Regions from separate parts of the Homo sapiens genome. Here regions 2, 3, 4, 5 and 6 are each linked to region 1. The links are contacts of gene promoters, found by promoter capture Hi-C in blood cells and fetal thymus (Javierre and others, 2016). All regions are on one chromosome and are shown on one strand. Each heading gives the region's core, a stretch centred on a gene start or on the middle of the fragment in contact. The rest is flanking DNA. Distances are from core to core; before and after follow the strand shown. Region 1 holds the start of AZIN2 (antizyme inhibitor 2). Region 2 overlaps CSMD2 (CUB and Sushi multiple domains 2). Region 3 overlaps ZBTB8OS (zinc finger and BTB domain containing 8 opposite strand). Region 4 overlaps ZSCAN20 (zinc finger and SCAN domain containing 20). Region 5 overlaps PHC2 (polyhomeotic homolog 2). Region 6 overlaps YARS1 (tyrosyl-tRNA synthetase 1).

The links. The method cuts DNA at HindIII sites, captures the fragments that hold promoters and counts their contacts. A CHiCAGO score of 5 or more calls a contact.
Region 2: a contact is called between a fragment that was not itself captured here and the fragment with the promoter of AZIN2 in region 1, in 1 of 17 cell types (M2 macrophages). The highest score is 5.3, in M2 macrophages.
Region 3: a fragment that was not itself captured here is called in contact with the fragment with the promoter of AZIN2 in region 1 in 1 of 17 cell types (total CD8 T cells); the score reaches 5.4 in total CD8 T cells.
Region 4: a contact is called between a fragment that was not itself captured here and the fragment with the promoter of AZIN2 in region 1, in 1 of 17 cell types (M2 macrophages). The highest score is 5.4, in M2 macrophages.
Region 5: a contact is called between a fragment that was not itself captured here and the fragment with the promoter of AZIN2 in region 1, in 1 of 17 cell types (neutrophils). The highest score is 5.2, in neutrophils.
Region 6: a fragment that was not itself captured here is called in contact with the fragment with the promoter of AZIN2 in region 1 in 1 of 17 cell types (M2 macrophages); the score reaches 6.3 in M2 macrophages.

The regions. Positions count from the first base shown.
Region 1 is chr1:33,079,705-33,082,565 of GRCh38, forward strand. It overlaps AZIN2 (antizyme inhibitor 2), which reads left to right and starts at 1,449. Exons shown (of 12, transcript NM_052998.4): 1 at 1,449-1,590; 2 at 1,684-1,804; 3 at 1,897-2,108; 4 at 2,474-2,650. The coding sequence starts at 2,546. LOC105378635 (a long non-coding RNA gene) reads right to left here and starts at 1,292. Exons shown (of 3, transcript XR_947163.2): 1 at 1,217-1,292; 2 at 495-623. RefSeq lists a silencer at 1,411-1,670. The HindIII fragment of the contact is 16,354 bases long and covers 852-2,861 here.
Region 2 is chr1:33,570,077-33,572,937 of GRCh38, forward strand. CSMD2 (CUB and Sushi multiple domains 2) reads right to left here. Exons shown (of 71, transcript NM_001281956.2): 50 at 2,430-2,615; 51 at 1,456-1,650. Among named protein-coding and RNA genes, the nearest start is that of ZSCAN20, 99 kb to the left of the region's middle. The HindIII fragment of the contact is 4,858 bases long and covers 1-2,861 here.
Region 3 is chr1:32,627,118-32,629,978 of GRCh38, forward strand. It overlaps ZBTB8OS (zinc finger and BTB domain containing 8 opposite strand), which reads right to left. Exons shown (of 7, transcript NM_178547.5): 6 at 391-427. Among named protein-coding and RNA genes, the nearest start is that of ZBTB8OS, 22 kb to the right of the region's middle. The HindIII fragment of the contact is 2,305 bases long and covers 271-2,575 here.
Region 4 is chr1:33,480,490-33,483,350 of GRCh38, forward strand. The region is part of intron 2 of ZSCAN20 (zinc finger and SCAN domain containing 20); the gene reads left to right. Among named protein-coding and RNA genes, the nearest start is that of ZSCAN20, 9.3 kb to the left of the region's middle. The HindIII fragment of the contact is 2,674 bases long and covers 88-2,761 here.
Region 5 is chr1:33,396,562-33,399,422 of GRCh38, forward strand. All of the region lies in intron 1 of PHC2 (polyhomeotic homolog 2), which reads right to left. Among named protein-coding and RNA genes, the nearest start is that of PHC2, 33 kb to the right of the region's middle. The HindIII fragment of the contact is 941 bases long and covers 877-1,817 here.
Region 6 is chr1:32,805,623-32,808,483 of GRCh38, forward strand. YARS1 (tyrosyl-tRNA synthetase 1) reads right to left here. Exons shown (of 13, transcript NM_003680.4): 4 at 860-989. Among named protein-coding and RNA genes, the nearest start is that of YARS1, 10 kb to the right of the region's middle. The HindIII fragment of the contact is 1,736 bases long and covers 630-2,365 here.

The DNA.
Region 1 (2,861 bases), core at 199-2,698:
AAAAAAAAAAAAAAGCCCACAGCCTAGCAGGGGACATGAAGACATATGGTAGACCAAAAGCCCTTTGGCTTCATTGATTTGAAATGCTGCCTCCATTGTGTACCAATCTCCAATGTATATGGGACTGTTGTAGACCCTGTTCTGTTTTACCACTGTCTCTTCCTGCTCCAGCACCATACTGTTTTAAAGACTGTAGTTTTGGCCGGGCGCGGTGGCTCACGCCTATAATCCCAGCACTTTGGGAGGCCGGGGCGGGTAGATTACTGGAGGTCAGGAGTTCAAGACCACCCTGGCCAATATGGTGAAACCCCATCTCTACTGAAAATACAAAATTAGCTGTGCGTGGTGGCATGCGCCTATAATCCCAGTTACTTGGGAGGCTGAGGCAGGAGAATCGCTTGAACCCAGGAGGCAGAGGTTGCAGTGAGCTGAGATCGTGCCATTGCACTCCAGCCTGGGCAAAAAGAGTGTCTTGACTGTTCTTGTACACTTACTTTTCCAGATGAACTTTTATATCAGCTTTTGAGTAACACAGCTATTGAATCTTCCTCAGCATTCTTGTCTATGCCAGGCACCAGGCTCTTGAGCAGGGTATTCAGTCCTTGCCCTTGGGAAATCACAAACTAGATGCAAAGTGTAACCAAACAAGAAGTGTAAAATAACAACAGGAATCTCACGCTATGGGTAACAAGAACCAAATGAGTGAGGGGTCCAGACAGACTAAATGCTGTGTTCCTTGGGGCCAGGCAAGTCATGGAAGGTTCAACAGAGGTGACATTATACAGGACTTTGATGGGTGAGCAGCAGCTTTCGGTATAGAAGAAATGCTTTGAGTTGAGGAAGTCCGGGAAAGCTTCTTGGAGAAGGAGACACATTTCTATTGAGAGATGAGTAAGAGTTTGCCGGGTTCACAGGATGGGATAAAGGGAGGGATTGCCCTGAACTGGGAAAGTCACAAAAAGGTTCTCTGAAGACATTTTAGATGCGTTTTGAGTTGGAGTCGGGGAAGATGCCTGGAAGAGGCAATTAAATAAAAAGAATTTTATTACAAAAGTAATACAAGGACATGTCATTGGAACCGGGTTTCGAGAGATGAGTGAGCAGTTCCTGACGCAGACAAGAGCTGGACCACGAAGTAAGTTGAGGCAGAGGCAGAAAAGGCTTCCTGGTCCTGCCCACTCTCTAAGACCTAAGATGCAGGGTCTAAGTGTCTCACCTGCGTGGCGGCGGCCCTGTAGTTCTGACTTCCAGCGTGAGGTAGCCACCGCCAGGCCTCCGGGGGAGAAGACTACAGTAAGGGCGAGCAGAGCTGAATGCTTTATGTCGGAATCGACCAATGGGATGGCGGCACCCGGTTGCCAGGGCTACGGCCAAGCGGAGGTAGGGCCTCGGCACTATGGGCGGGGCCTGGGCGGGGTTATATAAGCCAGCGGCGGGCGGAAGGCGGGGCGTGGGGGTCTGTGGCTGCTGGGCTGGCGGGGCGCAGGCCGCGGGACCCGAGCCCGGGGAAGCGAGAGAGCGGAGGCGCCGAGGATCCGATTCACTCCCTGGGGAGACCTATGGGCCGAAGCCGTGTAAATGCGTTTTAAGGCGAGTGCGGAAAGTGGCCTGGGGAGCCTCGGGGAGCGGACGCCCTCCGCCCTGGTGCTGACCTGCCTCCCTGCCCCTTCTGCCTCCTGTCAGCAGAGGCCTCGGCTCCGCAACTGCCACTCCTCCTCGGGGTGTTGCACAAGTTTCGAGGTCACCGGCGACCCCCCCTAGCAGCGCGCCTGGCTCTGGCCCCCGCGAAGGAGGACGGAGTTTGGTAAGGGGCCCTGGGGGTTGGGGGGACCTCAGCCCTGCACTCTGTAGGAGTCACTCGGACAGAAAAAACCTCGGCCTTCCGTTCTCTCCCAGGAGCTTGCGGCCCCCACCCACCGCGTGGCGTCCCCAGGCACGCCTAGAATTCTAGCACCTCAGGATCAGTCCAGCCCCCATTTACAATTGGGGAAACTGCGGCTCCGAAAGGGTCAGAGGGTACCCGAGGTCAAGCAGTAGAGAGCGGACTCGAACTTAAGCTCTTGCTCTTAGGCTGAGACGCCTTGATGTGGCCACCGGCTACCCTCTAGGTGGGCGTGGTCAAGACTGGGGGCGCCCTGGAAACTTCCCCACCCAAGTTTCTCAGATTTTCTGTTCCATCTCTCTCTCACTCTTTCCTGAAATCCAGAATTTCAGAACTGGGAAGGCTCTCCAAAACAATTCATCCATTTTACAGAGGGAGCAACTGACTCGGAGAGGCAGTGACATTTGGGCATACGGTGCCTTGTCTCCGTCTGAAATCCGGGATTCTTGACTTTCTCCACCCTTGCCCAGTGAACCCCGGGCTTGTGCTGGGGGCGGGTTGTGACGGGATTGGGATCCCTGGCCTCGGGAGGCGAGTGGGGCAGCAGAGCCGGCCCCCCAGCGGTTCCCTTCATCTCCCCTCGCCCCGCAGTGTGTTGCATACTTTCTAAGGCGGCGGCTGCAGCAGCGGCTCCATCCAGCCCGTCAGCTCCTCCTGCAAGGCATGGCTGGCTACCTGAGTGAATCGGACTTTGTGATGGTGGAGGAGGGCTTCAGTACCCGAGACCTGCTGAAGGAACTCACTCTGGGGGCCTCACAGGCCACCACGGTGAGGGGCTGGGAATGGGGGTGGGTCCCCGGTCCCCTGTACAGATCAGCTGCCTCCTCAGGAAGGGTCCCTAGGGCCCTCATCTTATCCTTTCGCTTATTTGGTACGCAATCCTTGCTATTTGCAAGAGAGGGGCTCAATTTATCCCCAATTCTTTGTCCTTGCCCCCAAACCTGCCCCTCCTATGTTGCCTTTTTACCCAGCCCTCCAA
Region 2 (2,861 bases), core at 251-2,750, 490 kb after region 1:
ACTACTCTGCCACATATGTGGTTACATCCCACTGTGCAGTCTGCACCACAGTGTGCAAAGACAACAGTGTCATGAATCACGGACATTGGCTTTTTTTTTTTTTTTTTTTGAGACGGAGTCTTGCACAGTCGTCCAGGCTGGAGTGCAGTGGCACAGTCTTGGCTCCCTGCAACCTCTGCCTCCTAGGTTCAAACAATTCTTTTGCCTCAGCCTCCCAAGTAGCTGGGATTACAGGTGGGCACCACCATGCTGGCTAATTTTTTTTTTTTTTTTTTTTAGTAGAGACAGGGTTTCACCATGTCGGCCAGGCTGGTCTCGAACTCCTGACCTCAAGTGATCCACCCACTTCAGCCTCTCAAATGCTGGGATCTATGCCCAACCTGGATCACAGGCATTGGAAGACACCATTTCTCCTCCTTCCCAGTTTCAAACTCCCACTTCTCACTGACCACTTCCTTCTACCTCTTTACAATCACTTGCCTCCTCTGTGACATCTGCATTGGTCACATAAATATGATGAGCATATCCCTATCGTAGTGCATGCTGCGATGAGCTACTCAGAGCCCCTTTTAGGACCGAGGGACTTATTTCCCCAGCTGCTGGAAAACAACCCTTGGCTGGCAGCCCTTTTCAGATTGCTGTGGTTGAGGAGTCCTCCCACCTAGGAAGGTCATGTCCCATTCCTAGGCCAGCCTGCATCCAGTGGCTGGTCAGTGTGGCAGTATAACAGTTCCCTTGCTCCAACTTGTGACAATTCTGAAGGGCCATCCAGAGCTCCCTGGGGGGTGAGCTAAGGCTTTCATGGATACTGCATCAGAGCTCAATTCTCCTTCTGCCCAGTCCTGCTTCCTTCCCTCCTTTCCCTTCTGTAGGTGGTGTTCTCAAGAGCACCCCCTAATAAGCCTCTGTCTCAGAGTGTCTTCCCAGAGATTCCGACCTTTGAAAGTGTATTAAAGAACCAAAGAAAAACAATTGACAATGGAGAAGGCAGGCAGGTTTAGGTGACCTGTCGCCTGTGCTACCCTCATTCCTCCTATATACACTCCCATTTCAGGTCTTATCGCACCACATTATCATCACTTCTTTATGTGTCTGCCTCTCCAGTAGACTATAAAGTCCTTGTGGGCAGGAACCAAAATCTTTTATCTTCAAACCTCTACAGTGTCTGGCATATAGTAAGAGCCTAAGAATATTAAAGAAATGAATTAGTGCATGCTCATCTGGACAAAAGCAGCTTTTGATAAGATGAGAAGATGCTAAGAAATACTTCCTTAAAGGAGTAAAGGAGTAGGCATTTTCCCAGCTCCTGATTCTACTAGATGAGAGTTTAAAAAGCAGTACACTGCAATCCCTGGTGATACCCCTTTTTCCCCCACCCCAGTTCACTCCATGCATGAGACAGCTTAGGTAGGAGGGACCCTGCTAAACTTGCCCACCCTCCCTTCCTGGGCTTACTTCGGCAGGTGGGCGTAGAGTCCCCGAGGCTCCATTTGCCATTGGCCTGACAGCGGATGACCCTTTGGCCAGTATAGTAGTAGCCAGGGTCACAGATGAGCATCAGCTGGGCCTGGAACTGATACTGTGTCTCAAAGATAAGCCTCCATCGGCCATGCTCCACGCTGATGCTACTGACATCAGGACAAGTCACAGCTGGGGAAATGAGGAAAAGAAAGGAGGATTAATTACTTGATTAATTCTGGAAGACCTTGTAAGAGCCCAGATCTAGGGACTTGGAGACCTTAATGCAATAATGAAGAATCCAGGAATCTTCAGTTCTCAGGCAGGTTTGGTAAATGAACAGGTGGGTTGGGTGGGGGATGTGGCAAACTGGGGAGTACAGTTCTGCTAAAAAATTAAAAATTAAAAAAGGGAAATAGTACTCAGTCAAGGTTGACTATTGAATGTTTGAGTTGCATTTGATTAGATTTTCATTTTTCAAGAGAAGACAGAAATCTGGATTTTAATGTAAAATTTCTTGATTTTAAAAGATTGTGGAGTAATTCAAAATTTGTTATAAAGCACCGTGTAGGCCAAAAAACAAAACAAAACAAAAACCTCTGTCTTTGGATGGGACATAGTCGAGGAGGTTGCCATTTTGTGATCTGGCCTAAAAGTTGTTGTTTTTAGAGCTTTGGAATCAAGGGACATTCATGCAAACTTTCTGACAGGTTTTCCATCTAAAAGGGAGTGGACCAGGCCATTCCTAAGTTCCATGGTGGTTTGTGGAAACATCTTAGGGCACAATGGTTATCAATGCTGAGAGCAGTTTCAGCACCTGCCTCCTCTTCTGAAATCCTCCAACCTCCATGTCCATGTTTTTTTTTTTTTTTCCCCCTCATTACTTTGCTTTTAGCTCACTCCTTGCAGGAATCTTTCCAGCTGCCTACCTAGCCCTTCCTTACACCCGCCTCCATTGCCCGAGGACTCACGGACACACTGTGGTGGGACATTGCGGTTGCTCCATAGGCCTGTGTCCAGACACTCTGCAGTGGCCTCAGCGCCTGCCTGGAGGTGGTAGCCTTCACTGCAGCTGTACATGGCCTTGGTTCCCACTGTGTACTCCTTGCCAAACACCATTCCATTCTTGGGGGCCTCAGGAAGCCCACAGGAAAGAGCTAGCAAAAGGAAAACAATGTCATGAGCATTTGTTTTAAGATGGTATTCTGAGAAACTATTTTTATCCTTCCTCCCCTCCCAAGGTCCTTTTATTAGTAAAAACTAATTAAAGGGTAAAGTATCATAATAAAAAAGAAAATGGGAGGATCATCAGCAGAAGAGTTTTTTCTTCTTTTTTTTTTTAAGTTTGGAAGAAGGAATAAAGATAGAAGTGCAAAGAAGCTGTAGCTCAAAATATATGGGAG
Region 3 (2,861 bases), core at 173-2,672, 450 kb before region 1:
AATAGATTTTCCTACCATAGAGTGAGGCCATACAGGTCGGCAAATACAGAATCTAGAGACACACAGAAAGTAGAAGGCACAATAGAGAACATCTAGTCCAACATCTTTATTATAGGAGAAGAAATAAAGGTCAAAAAGGCAAAGAGAATTTCAAATTCCACAATAATCTGAACAAACTTGACCCTAGAACCCAATGCTGACGCCTCATCCACTAAATCAGGTGTGTATAATCACAGTATTTTAACAAAATATATCCAGACAGGTCAGAGAAGCTTGAGAAAAACTTATCACTTTACACCAGTTAGAACTAACTGAAGTTGATTGTCACATATATGAACTTTATGGTAAGGAAATTTTTCATGTTCTTAATGGCTGGATTTTAAAACATACCTGAGGGTGCTTGGACAATGAAAATTCTTCTCCCCACCTTGAGAATACAAATTAAAACATGATTAAGATTTGTTCTCTCTTTATATGTTTTAAAATAAGCCTTGTAAATGTGGTTAACATGCTAGAAAGCCAAAAGAGACAGGAGGGGGTCAGGGAGCTGTTAAGTTTCATTTTCATTTGTCAGAAGATACAGCTGTTGAGGGACGTGTGTGCAGTGTCATCATTTGCTCTCAAGGTTGATAGTTAAGGCCAGGTGCGGTGGCTCATACCTATAATCCTGGCACTTCCGGAGGCCAAAGGGAGGATCGCTTGAGCCCAGGAGTTTGAGAACAGCCTGAGCAACATAGGGAGACCTCATCTGTACACAAAATTAAAAAAATAAAAAAAGTTAGCTGGGTGTGGTGGCACATGCCTGTGGTCCCAGCCACTCACGAGGAGGAGGCAGGAAGATTGCTTGAGCCCAGAAGTCAAGGCTGCAGTGAGCTGTGATTGCACCACCGCACTCTAGCCTGGGTGTCAGGGCAAGACTGTGTTTCAAAAGAATTTTTAATTATAGGCCAGGCGCGGTGGCTCATGCCTGTAACCCCAGCACTTTGGGAGGCCGAAGCAGGTGGATCATCTGAGGTCGGCAGTTGAGGTCGGCAGTTTGAGACCAGCCTGACCAACATGGAAAAACCCTGTCTCTACTAAAAACACAAAATTAGCCGGGCGTGGTGGCGCATGTCTGTAATCCCAGCTACTTGGGAGGCAGAGGCAGGAGAATCGCTTGAACCCAGGAGGTGGAGGTTGCAGTGAGCCAAGATCGCGCCACTGCACTCCACCCTAGGCAACAGAGCGAAATGAAAAAGGTCAGGCGCGGTGGCTCATGCCTGTAATCCCAGCACTTTGGGAGGCCGAGGTAGGCGGATCACCTGAGGTCAGGAGTTCAAGACCAGCCTGGCCAACATGATGAAACTCTGTCTCTACTAAAAATACAAAAATTAGCCAGGCGTGGTGGTAGGCACCTGTAATCCGAACTACTCAGGAGGCTGAGGCAGGAGAATCGCTTGAGCCAGGAGGCGGAGATTGCAGTGAGCTGAGATCATGCCACTGCACTCCAGCCTGGGCAACAGAGCGAGACTCTGTCTCAAAAAAAAAAAAAAATTTAATTCTAGTGGCCAGGCACAGTGGCTCCCACCTGTAATCCCAGCACTTTGGGAGGCAGAGGTAGATGAATCCAGGAGTTCAAGACCAGCCTGGCCAACATGGTGAGAACTCGTCTCTACTAAAAATACAAAAATTAGGCAGGCATGGTTCCATGCGCCCGTGGTCCCACCTACTCGGGAGGCTGAGGCACAAGAATGGTTTGAATCTGGGAGGCGGACATTGCAGTGAACCAAGATCACATCATTGCACTCCCAGCCTGGGCAACAGAGTGAGACTGTCTAAAAAACAAACAAACAAAAAATTAATTTTAAAAACTTTAAAAAAAGGTTGATAGTTGATCTCAAAATAAATGTGCCCCAATATAGTGTACCTATGGTGGAATCTCAATAAACATTGTTTAGTAAATATTGTTTCAAAACAGAGTAGTAACATATTCAAAATTTTTACTATCCTCAGTTATGAAACTAGTTAAGTAGGCTGGGTGCGGTGGCTCACACCTGTAATCTCAGCACTTTGGGAGACTGAGGCAGGAAGATAGCTTGAGCTCAGGGGTTTGAGACCAGCCTGGGCAATGTAGCGAGACCCTGTCTCTACAAAAGATTAAAAAAAAAAATTAGCCAGGCATGGTGGCATATGTCTGTTGTCCTAGCTAGGTGGGAGGTTGAGGTAGGAGGATTGCTTGAGCCCAAAAGGTCATGGCTGCAGTGAGCCATGATCATGCCACTGCACTCCAGGCTGAGAGACAAAGCAAAACCCTCTCTCAAAACAAAAACAACAAAAACAAAACAAAAAAGAAAAACAAAAACTAATTAAATAATACCTCCCACTGGAGAAAGCAAGTCTGAGTACCACAAAGGCAAAATACTAGACTCTATAATACAGTCCGAACTTGGTTTACACTTTACAACTTTTCCAAAAATATCCATGATCTGTATATAGAAGGCCCTAGAAAAGTAATCTAGAACTTAGGATCAGTCTCCTCTCTGTCTTTGACACTAATGTGAGTGAAGATCACAACGTGGTATAATAGAAAGAGCAAAGCTTTAAAATTCTGTTCAAACACTTATTAGCTAGTACTTTTGGACATGCTTGTTTCTTTTTTTTTTTTTTTTTTTTTTGAGCCAGAGTCTCGCGCTGTTGCCAGGCTGGAGTGCAGTGGCACAATCTTGGCTCACTGCAACCTCTGCCTCCTGGGTTCAAGCGATTCTCCTGCCTCAGCCTCCTGAGTAGTTCAGATTACAGGTGCCCACCACCACACCTGGCTAATTTTTGTATTTTTAGTAGGGATGGGGTTCCACCATGTTGGCTAGGATGGTCTCAATCTC
Region 4 (2,861 bases), core at 175-2,674, 400 kb after region 1:
GAATTAAAATACCTTTGAGCCATGAGGCTCAAATGAGATATTAGTTGACATTTTGTGAGCACTCACTGTGTGTCAGATACTGGTCTAAGCTTATATATATAGCCCTCATCTAATCAACCCAGCAATCCAATAAGGTAGGTGCTATTATCATTGCCATTTGCCAAATGGGTAAACAGAGATGGAGAGGTAAGTAACTTATCTAACTTTATATAACTACGTGATAGAGCTGAGGTAAGGGAAATGAAAGTATGGATTTAACATTCGCAGTTTCAACAATTTGCAAGTGACCGCTGAAAGCCCATGATATAATGCATAATTTTGCTATGACACACATTTTGAATCCTGCTTCAAAGCTGGTATATGTAGAACAGATCCTTTAGCTGGATCCAGAACCTTCCTCTAAACATGACTTTTTCTCTACTTGTTATAGTTAGTAATTCTTGTGATATTTTACTTACCCCCATTTTGCTGGGGGAAATTACAGGTTTGGGAACATATCCCTTGCAAATGGCAGGGGTTTTCTGTACATTTAAACTGTAAAGTTCTATACAGTGTGAGGTTGGGGGAGCAAAGGTTTTAGACCGGTGACTTTGCTCTTTGGATTCCTTTACAAACTGATTGAAGATACAGGGAGACTAATATATAAAGTTACAGAACTAAGTATGAGAGAGTGTGCCTTATTTTAATGTACCTCCCCACCCCCCTATATTATTTCTTTTAAAGAAACCAGCTGTTTGTCTTAAGTGGCAGTGAAGAAACAAATGGAAGTTTTAGGGCTTCAGAGTTGGGACATAAAGAACTTGAGACCCAGAGATGAAAACGGATTTAAATCAAGGTCTTTATGATTCTTCATCTGTAAAATGAGAGGGTTGGATTAGACCAAAGGTTCTCAAATTATGCCCCTGTGAGCTGACCAAAAGTTGAACTGCTTCTAAAATTGAGAAAAAAATAAGGTAATGGAATCTTGTCTATTATGTATTTTTGTTTTTACTGTGACTTTTTTTATTTTTAAACTTTCCTACCTGCTCCTGAGTGGTCACAAATTTCAAAACAAATGGACAAGTAGCAGAGGAGCTTGTTTTTTTCAGGTGCAAATGTAGCTTGTGATCTTACATTGCAAGATATATAACTTAGTTGCATTCTCTGCAAGTAAAATTTTTCAAGTCTTAATAATGGGATGAAATATAGTTATAATATTCCTCAAAGTGAACCTGAAAAAGGTTGGTGCCTACAGGACTAAATGGCCCCTAAGGTAATTTCCTAAAAGGGATCTTTCAGCTCTGCTATTTTGTGATTGTTACTTGTTTCTTCTGTCATCACCATCTTGTTGAATCCCCCTCTCTGTCAGATGCCCCCTCTCCATCAGGTGCACAGGGATTTTTAAAAAACAGGCTTTATTTTTTAGAGCAATTTTAGGCTCAAACTCACAGCAAAATTGAGCAGAAGGTACAGAGAGTTCCCATCCCTCCCCGACAAGCCTCCCTAACTATCAACATCCCTGCACCAGAGCAATATGTTTATTACCATTGATGAACCTACAGTGATACATCATTATCATCACTCAAAGTAGCAGTTTATGTTAGGGCTCTTAATGTTATTCATTCTGTAATGTATGACATTAAGAGCCCTATTATAAACTGTATCTACCATCATAGTGACATAGTAACATGTATCTACCATTGTAGTGACATACAGAGTAGCTTCACTGCTGTAAAAACCCTCTGTGTTCTACCTGTTTATTCTTCCTTCCCCCCAACCCCTGGCAACACCGATCTTTATACTGTCTCCATAGTTTTGCCTTTTAAAAAATGTTACATAGTTGGAATCATACAGTATATAGCCCTTTCAGATTGGCTTCTTTTACTTAGTAGTATACATTTAAGTTTCCTCCACGTCTTTTCATGGCTTGTTAGCTCATTTCTCTTTAATGCTTAACAATATTCCGTTGTGTGGATGTACCACAGTTTATTTATCTACTCACCTACTGAAGGACATCTTGGTTCCATCAAAGTTTTGGCAGTTATGTATGAAGCTGCTGTAAATATTCATATGCAGGTTTTTGTGTGGACCTAGTTTTCAGTTCATTTGGGTAAATACCAAGGGACATGATTGCTGGATCATATGGTAAGAGTATGTTTACCTTTGTAAGAAATTGCCAAACTGTCATCCAAAGTGGCTGTACCATTTTGCATTTTTACTAGCAATGAATGGGAGTTCTTGTTGCCCCACATCCTTGCCAGCATTTGGTGTTTTGGATTTTGGCCATTCTAATAGGTAGATAGTGGTATTTTATTGTTGTTCGAATTTGCAATTCACCAATAACCTACCATGTTATACATGTTTTCATATGTTTACTTGCCATCTGTATATTTTCTTTGGTGTGGTGACTGTTAAAGTCTTGCCCATTTTTAAATTGGGTTGTTTGTCTTCTTACTCTTGAGTTTTAAGAGTTCTTTGTATGTTCGGGGTAACGGTCCTTTATCAGATATGTGTTTTGCAAATATATTCTCCCAGTCTGTGGCTTGTCTTCTCATTCTCTTGACAGTATCTTTCATAGAGCAGTATTTTTTAATTTTAACGAAGTCCAGCTTATCAATTATTTCTTTCATGGATTATGCCTTTGATTTTGTATCTGAAAAGTCATTGCTATACCTGACATTATCTCAGTTTTCTCCTATATTTTAGGAATTTTATAGTTTTTCATTTTAACGTTAAGGTCTGTGATCCATTTTGAGTTGATTTTTGTGAAGGATAGGATAGAAGCTTTTTTTTTTTTTCATGTGGATGTCCAGTTTTAGTATCATTTGTTGAAAATATATTTGCTTCACTGTATTACCTTTGCTCGTTTATCAAAGTTCAGT
Region 5 (2,861 bases), core at 97-2,596, 320 kb after region 1:
ATTTGGGGGAGGCATTAGGCAAAATTGAATTTTCTCCTTAATCTTCTTTCAGAAGGTAAATGAAAATGGATGTGGCCTGTTAAAGCCCATGGCCTTCCTCTGACACAATCTAAGTGCTGTTCACAGCCAAGGAACCCTCTGGTATGGGGAGAGAGTGGCTTGTGGAAGGCGGCTTCCTGCCCCGTAACTGATAAGAGCTGCGGTCAGAATCCTTGAAGAGTTTTCACAAAAATTTGAGGTAGAGGCTTTGCAAGCTGAGATGCATTTCTTTGGAGGAGACACTCTGAGCTGACGGACAGCAGCGTCCTCCTCCCACACAGACACAAGAGGAGGCCCCTTGGTACAGCACTTCCTATGGTGTTCACTTTCAAGGCTGAAATGGAGAATGCCACTCGCTCTTTGGTTTAGTGTTAACACGAGGAGTCTGGAATCAGATGGTCTGTGGGAAGGCCTGCTCTGCCTCTTACCAGCTGTGTAATATTGAGCACATTCACCTCTCTAAGCCTTAGTTTCCTCATCTGTGAAATGGGGATAATCACAACACCTACTTCACTGAGTAGCTGGGACAATGAGAGGAACCATATATTCAGAGCATTCAGCACAGGGTCTGGCAGCAGCACCATCACCAGGCACCAGAGGTCAAATAAAAATCTTAGGAAATTGAATGCCAGGGTTCTCCAGAGGGAGCTGCTCAGCTCTGAAGTAAACATTACCAGGTGCTTAGTCCCGGGAACAGGTCACAGGCCAGTAGTTGAGGGCCACTTCTTGAGTCTTTGGAGCATGTTGAAAATGCAGAATCTTGGGCCCCACCCCAGACCTGCTGAATCTGAATGAGCATTGCAACAAGATCCTCTGGGTCATTCACGTGCACATTAAAGCTTAAGAGGAATTGTTTTGAGCCATCCTCTTAATTATAATCTTACCCTGTTAGACAAGGAGGAGACTTCGCAGAAAGGTTAAGTAACTTGCTTACAGTCCATCCATGGCAGAGACCAGATGAGGCCTCGGTCTCCTGACTCTGAGACTGGTCCAGATTCAGCTGTGGCCCTCCTGAGTCTGTTCCTCTGGCAGCACGGCAGCTCTCTGCCCTCTTTGTTTGGGGTGGTCTCAGTGGGTGATTTTGGCTCTGCCTCAGGGTACATCCACCATGCACTTTGAAAGGAGATATTCCTTTGGAATATTGTTGGGGGTTATGAAGCCTGGTTACCAGGATGACCTCTGCAGAGAATACTGATGCGACAAAGGAAAATACCCTTGATGACCTCTGCAAATGCTTGCCTGCCCTTTGAACTCAAAATGCTTCAGATAAGGATACACAAGAAATCGCAGACAGTGATGCCTCCCGGGGAGTAGGGGGAGGCATGCTTTTCACCGTATACTCTTTTGAATCTTTTGGACTTTGTTCCCTGTGCATGTAAAAAAATACTTAAAAATTAATTGTTAAATAATATTACAAGAATGCCTCAGACAGATTGCAACTAAAAACAAGACCCCATCTGGCTCTGCCATTAGATCATCTAGCCCTGCTTATGATAGCACTGCTTTTTGCTTCTCTTTCCTCCTGAAACCTGAAACTGAAAAGCATTGTGGAAAGGCTCTAAGGCTTGAGTGCAGAGGTAGACTCTGGTCTTGCTTCAGCACTATCAGATTCCTCAGCAGGATGTGAAATGCTTTGCAACATTTTAAATGACATTAAGTAAGTGTAATTATGATTTAAACCCCACCTCTACCCCCAGTAAATCACAGCCAGAGGAAGGAGAGAACTTTTGTCTAATAGGCTTCCCCTAGATTTGGAATAACCAATCAAAATGGCACTAAGCTTGTTACAAATGTAATATGCATAATATAATCCCATTGTTAAGTACATGTTATTTAATGTATAGCTTAGCTGGGAGGATAGATACCAAATGTTAACAATGGCTGCTTTGGGTGATAGTGTTACTGCTGATTTTTATTTTCTCATTTATCCTTTTCTTTATTTTCCAAATGTCTATGTATCTTAAAGTATCTGGGCTTCAACATCACAGTATTCTTAGCACAAAACATAAGGGAAAAGATGCTCACTTCCCATCTGAACATTCATTCACAAGCTGGTAGTGCAGTTCTGCCCACATTGGTCCTCTGCATTGAAGTACCTGCTGAACGAGGGGCTGCAGGCATTCTTGGTTTCCCAAAGCTATATTCCAGTAGATACAGGGACTTTTTGGTAGTTTTCAGAGCTAGAAAGCACACACAGATGGGAGGCACTGGTTTCTAGGATGGCTTCACAACAGAGGGCACAGTTGGCTAAAGTCAATTCCTGACCCAGACATTGACCATGAAGTGTTCTTGGGGCAAGTCCAGTTGACCTCGATAGCCTCGCTGATTGTTGCTTGGAGGGTAGGTGAAAAAGACACGGTTTCTTTCTTCAGGCAGTCTGGGTCCAGAGTTCAAGGAGTTTTACAGTATTGGAAGAACAATGAAACTATATACAAGGCAAAATGTGAAAAATTCTACTACAGATGTACAAAGTGAACAGTAGAACAAAACAGTGTGTGGGGTTGGGGTATTCAGGCCTGAATAGGATCCACCTCTGTCCTGCATTATGAGTGTGACTAGGACAAGGTGCTATGCTACACTGAGTCACTGTTTCCTTGTCTTTAAAGCAGAAAGAACAATCCTTGAAGGGACCCTACAAGGAATAAAGAGGATGTGTGTAAGACTTCTAGAATAGTACTCACACACAGCAGGTACCCTACAAAAGGTGCTGGAAGTATTATTACTTTGGACACTGAGCTCACAAGGGCCACATTATAGTCACATTATCATTATCACTGCCCCCATTTGGAAAAAGTTCTAAAGAGCCGCCACAGATTTATAGA
Region 6 (2,861 bases), core at 248-2,747, 270 kb before region 1:
TTCCTTCTTCACTAAGCTTAATCATTTCTAGGTGTAGATTTAAAGTGACAGATGTGCGGCCGGGCACGGTAGCTCACGTCTATAATCCCAGCACTGTGGGAGGCCAAGGTGGGTGGATCATGAGGTCAAGAGTTCAAGACCAGCCTGGCCAAGATGGTGAAACCCCATCTCTACTAAAAATACAAAAAAAATCAGCCGGGCATGGTGGCAGGCGCCTGTAATCCCAGCTACTCGGGAGGCTGAGGCAGAGAATTGCTTGAACCCGGGAGGCGGAGGTTGCAGTGAGCCGAGATTTCGCCACTGCACTCCAGCCTGGGCGACACAGCGAGATTCCGTCTCAAAAATAAATAAATAAATAAAGTGAGCTATGTGTGACTCTCCCTTTCAACACTTAGAGGCCATTGTAGGGTTATTAATTAGCCTAATTTCAATATTGTTGTGTTTTAGGAAATGAGGAGGCCAGGAGAGTGAGGAAATGGCTGGATGGTAGAGTAGTCAGAACACACACAATACTTATTAAGTTCGTTGTCTTATACGGGCACAGTTTGTGGTGCCCCAAAACAATTACAATATTTAACATCAAAGGTAACAGATCGCATATCACCATGCAGATATGATAATAATGAAAAAGCTTGAAATACTGTGAGAATTACCAAAATGTAGCACAGAGACACGAAGTGAGCACATGCTGTTGGAAAAATGGTGCTGGTGGACTTGCTGTACACAGGGTTGCCACACACCTTCAATTTGTAAAAAACACAATATCTGCGTAGTGCAGTAAAGCAAAGTGCAATAAGATATGCCTGTCATCAAACCAGAGCAGAAAAGGTCATCGGGCCACTCCATCCCCCTTAAGTACCTGCAGTCCGGGGTATAAGAGGCCACTCAGCAAAGGGTGCTCCACCTGCTTTACCACCTCAGCTCCAGCCTTCTTGGAATCGTGCTGTGTGACCACGGAGGAGAGTCTGTACACATCTAGTGTGTACTCTCTGAAGAGGAAAGGAAGAGGGGACAGCTGTAAACCTGGGCCTAGGCCTCAGTTTCCTAGGAAATCTAAAGCACATTAATTTACTTCCCTAACCTTAGTGTAACCAGGGATCTCGGTTTTAAAAATATATTTTAATCACCAACTTTCTTCTTCTTTCCCTCCCTTCTGGCAATGCATGCTTATTTAATTATGTTCTTGCTTAAGAAATTTCAGAGAGGAGGGTGAGGATTCAAAAACTACCTATTGGGTATTGTGCTGATTACCTGGGTGACAAAATTGTCTGTACACCAAACTCCTGTGACATGTAACAAACCTGCACATGCACCCCTTGAATCTAAAATAAAAGTTGGAAAAAAAGAAATCACAGAAGCTAATCTTGAAACAAACTAGGCATGGAGCCCAGACTGCAGAATCCTCCTGCTCAGAGGGAGTCTGGAACGATTAGTCCATCACCATCAGTCTGAAGTCAAGATAACACCAACCATACCTCCTGACAGGCAATTATGCAAGACAGCCATCAGAACAAAGACAGACAGACCCTGCATTCTCACCACTCCTGCATGTCTCCCACACCAAGTCTCCCTTTAAAAACACTATGGTAACATTTAGAATTTAAGATAGTACTTTAGAACACTAGTTCACCATCTTCTCGGTTTGTTGGCTTTCTGATCAAACCTGCTTTTCCTCCTACCAACCCATATCTCTTGTGTCGGGCTTTCAAGTGGCCGGGCAGCCAAACCTGGGTCCAGTTACATTAGGACATTCAAACAGAGCACTGCCTGGTAGCTTCTAAAATGTGATAGACCTATCTTCTCATCTAAAATATTACTTTATTTTTATGTTTTTCCTTTTATTTTTTTTTTTGAGACAGGGTCTCACTCTGTCACCTGGGCTGGAACACAGTGGTGTGATCACAGCTCATTGCAGCCTCAATCTCCCTGGGCTCAGGTGATCCTCCCACCTCAACCTCCAAAGGAACTAGGACTATAGGCATGTGCCACCACACCTGGCTAATTTTTCTATTTTTTGTAGAGACGTGGTTTCCCCCCATTGCCCAGGCTGGTCTGGAACTGCTGGGCTCGAGCAATCTGCCCACCCCAGCCTACCAAAGTGCTGGGAAAACAAGCCACAGTAGCGGGCTTGTTTTTCTTTTTAAAAGAGGGCTTCAATTAGTATTTTTCTTCACTTCTGGAAAACGTTCTGCCATTATCTCTTGAAACACTGCTTCTCTGCCATTCTCCTTCAGTCTCTTCATTTGGAATGCCTTTTCAACTGATATCAAAATTTCCCAATCTATTTCCATGTTTTTTTGTTTTTGAGACAGGATCTTGCTCTGTTGCCCAGGTTGCAGTATAATGGCACAATCATAGTCACTGAAGCTTTGATCTCAGCTCAAGTGATCCTCCCACCTCAGCCTCTCAAGTAGCTGGGATTACAGGTGCATGCCATGATGCCTAGCTAATTTTTTTGATTTTTAGTAGAGATGAGGTCTCGCTACGCCCACTCTGGTCTCGAATTCCTGAGCTCAAGTGATTCTCCTGCCTTGGCCTCCCAAAGTGCTGGGATTACAGGCATGAGCCACTGCATCCAGCAACCCCCACTCCCCCACCATTTTTTTTTTTTTTTTGAAACAGAGTCTCGCTCTGTTGCCCAGGCTGGAGTGCAGTGGTGCGATCTCGGCTCACCACAACCTCTGCCCCGTGGGTTCAAGCGATTATCCTGCCTCAGCCTCCTGAGTACTGGGATTACAGGCGTGCACCACCACACCTGGCTAATTTTTGTATTTTTAGTAGAGATGGGGTTTCACCATGTTGGCCAGGCTGGTCTTGAACTCCTGACCTCAGCCTCCCAAAGTGCTGAGATTACAGGCGTG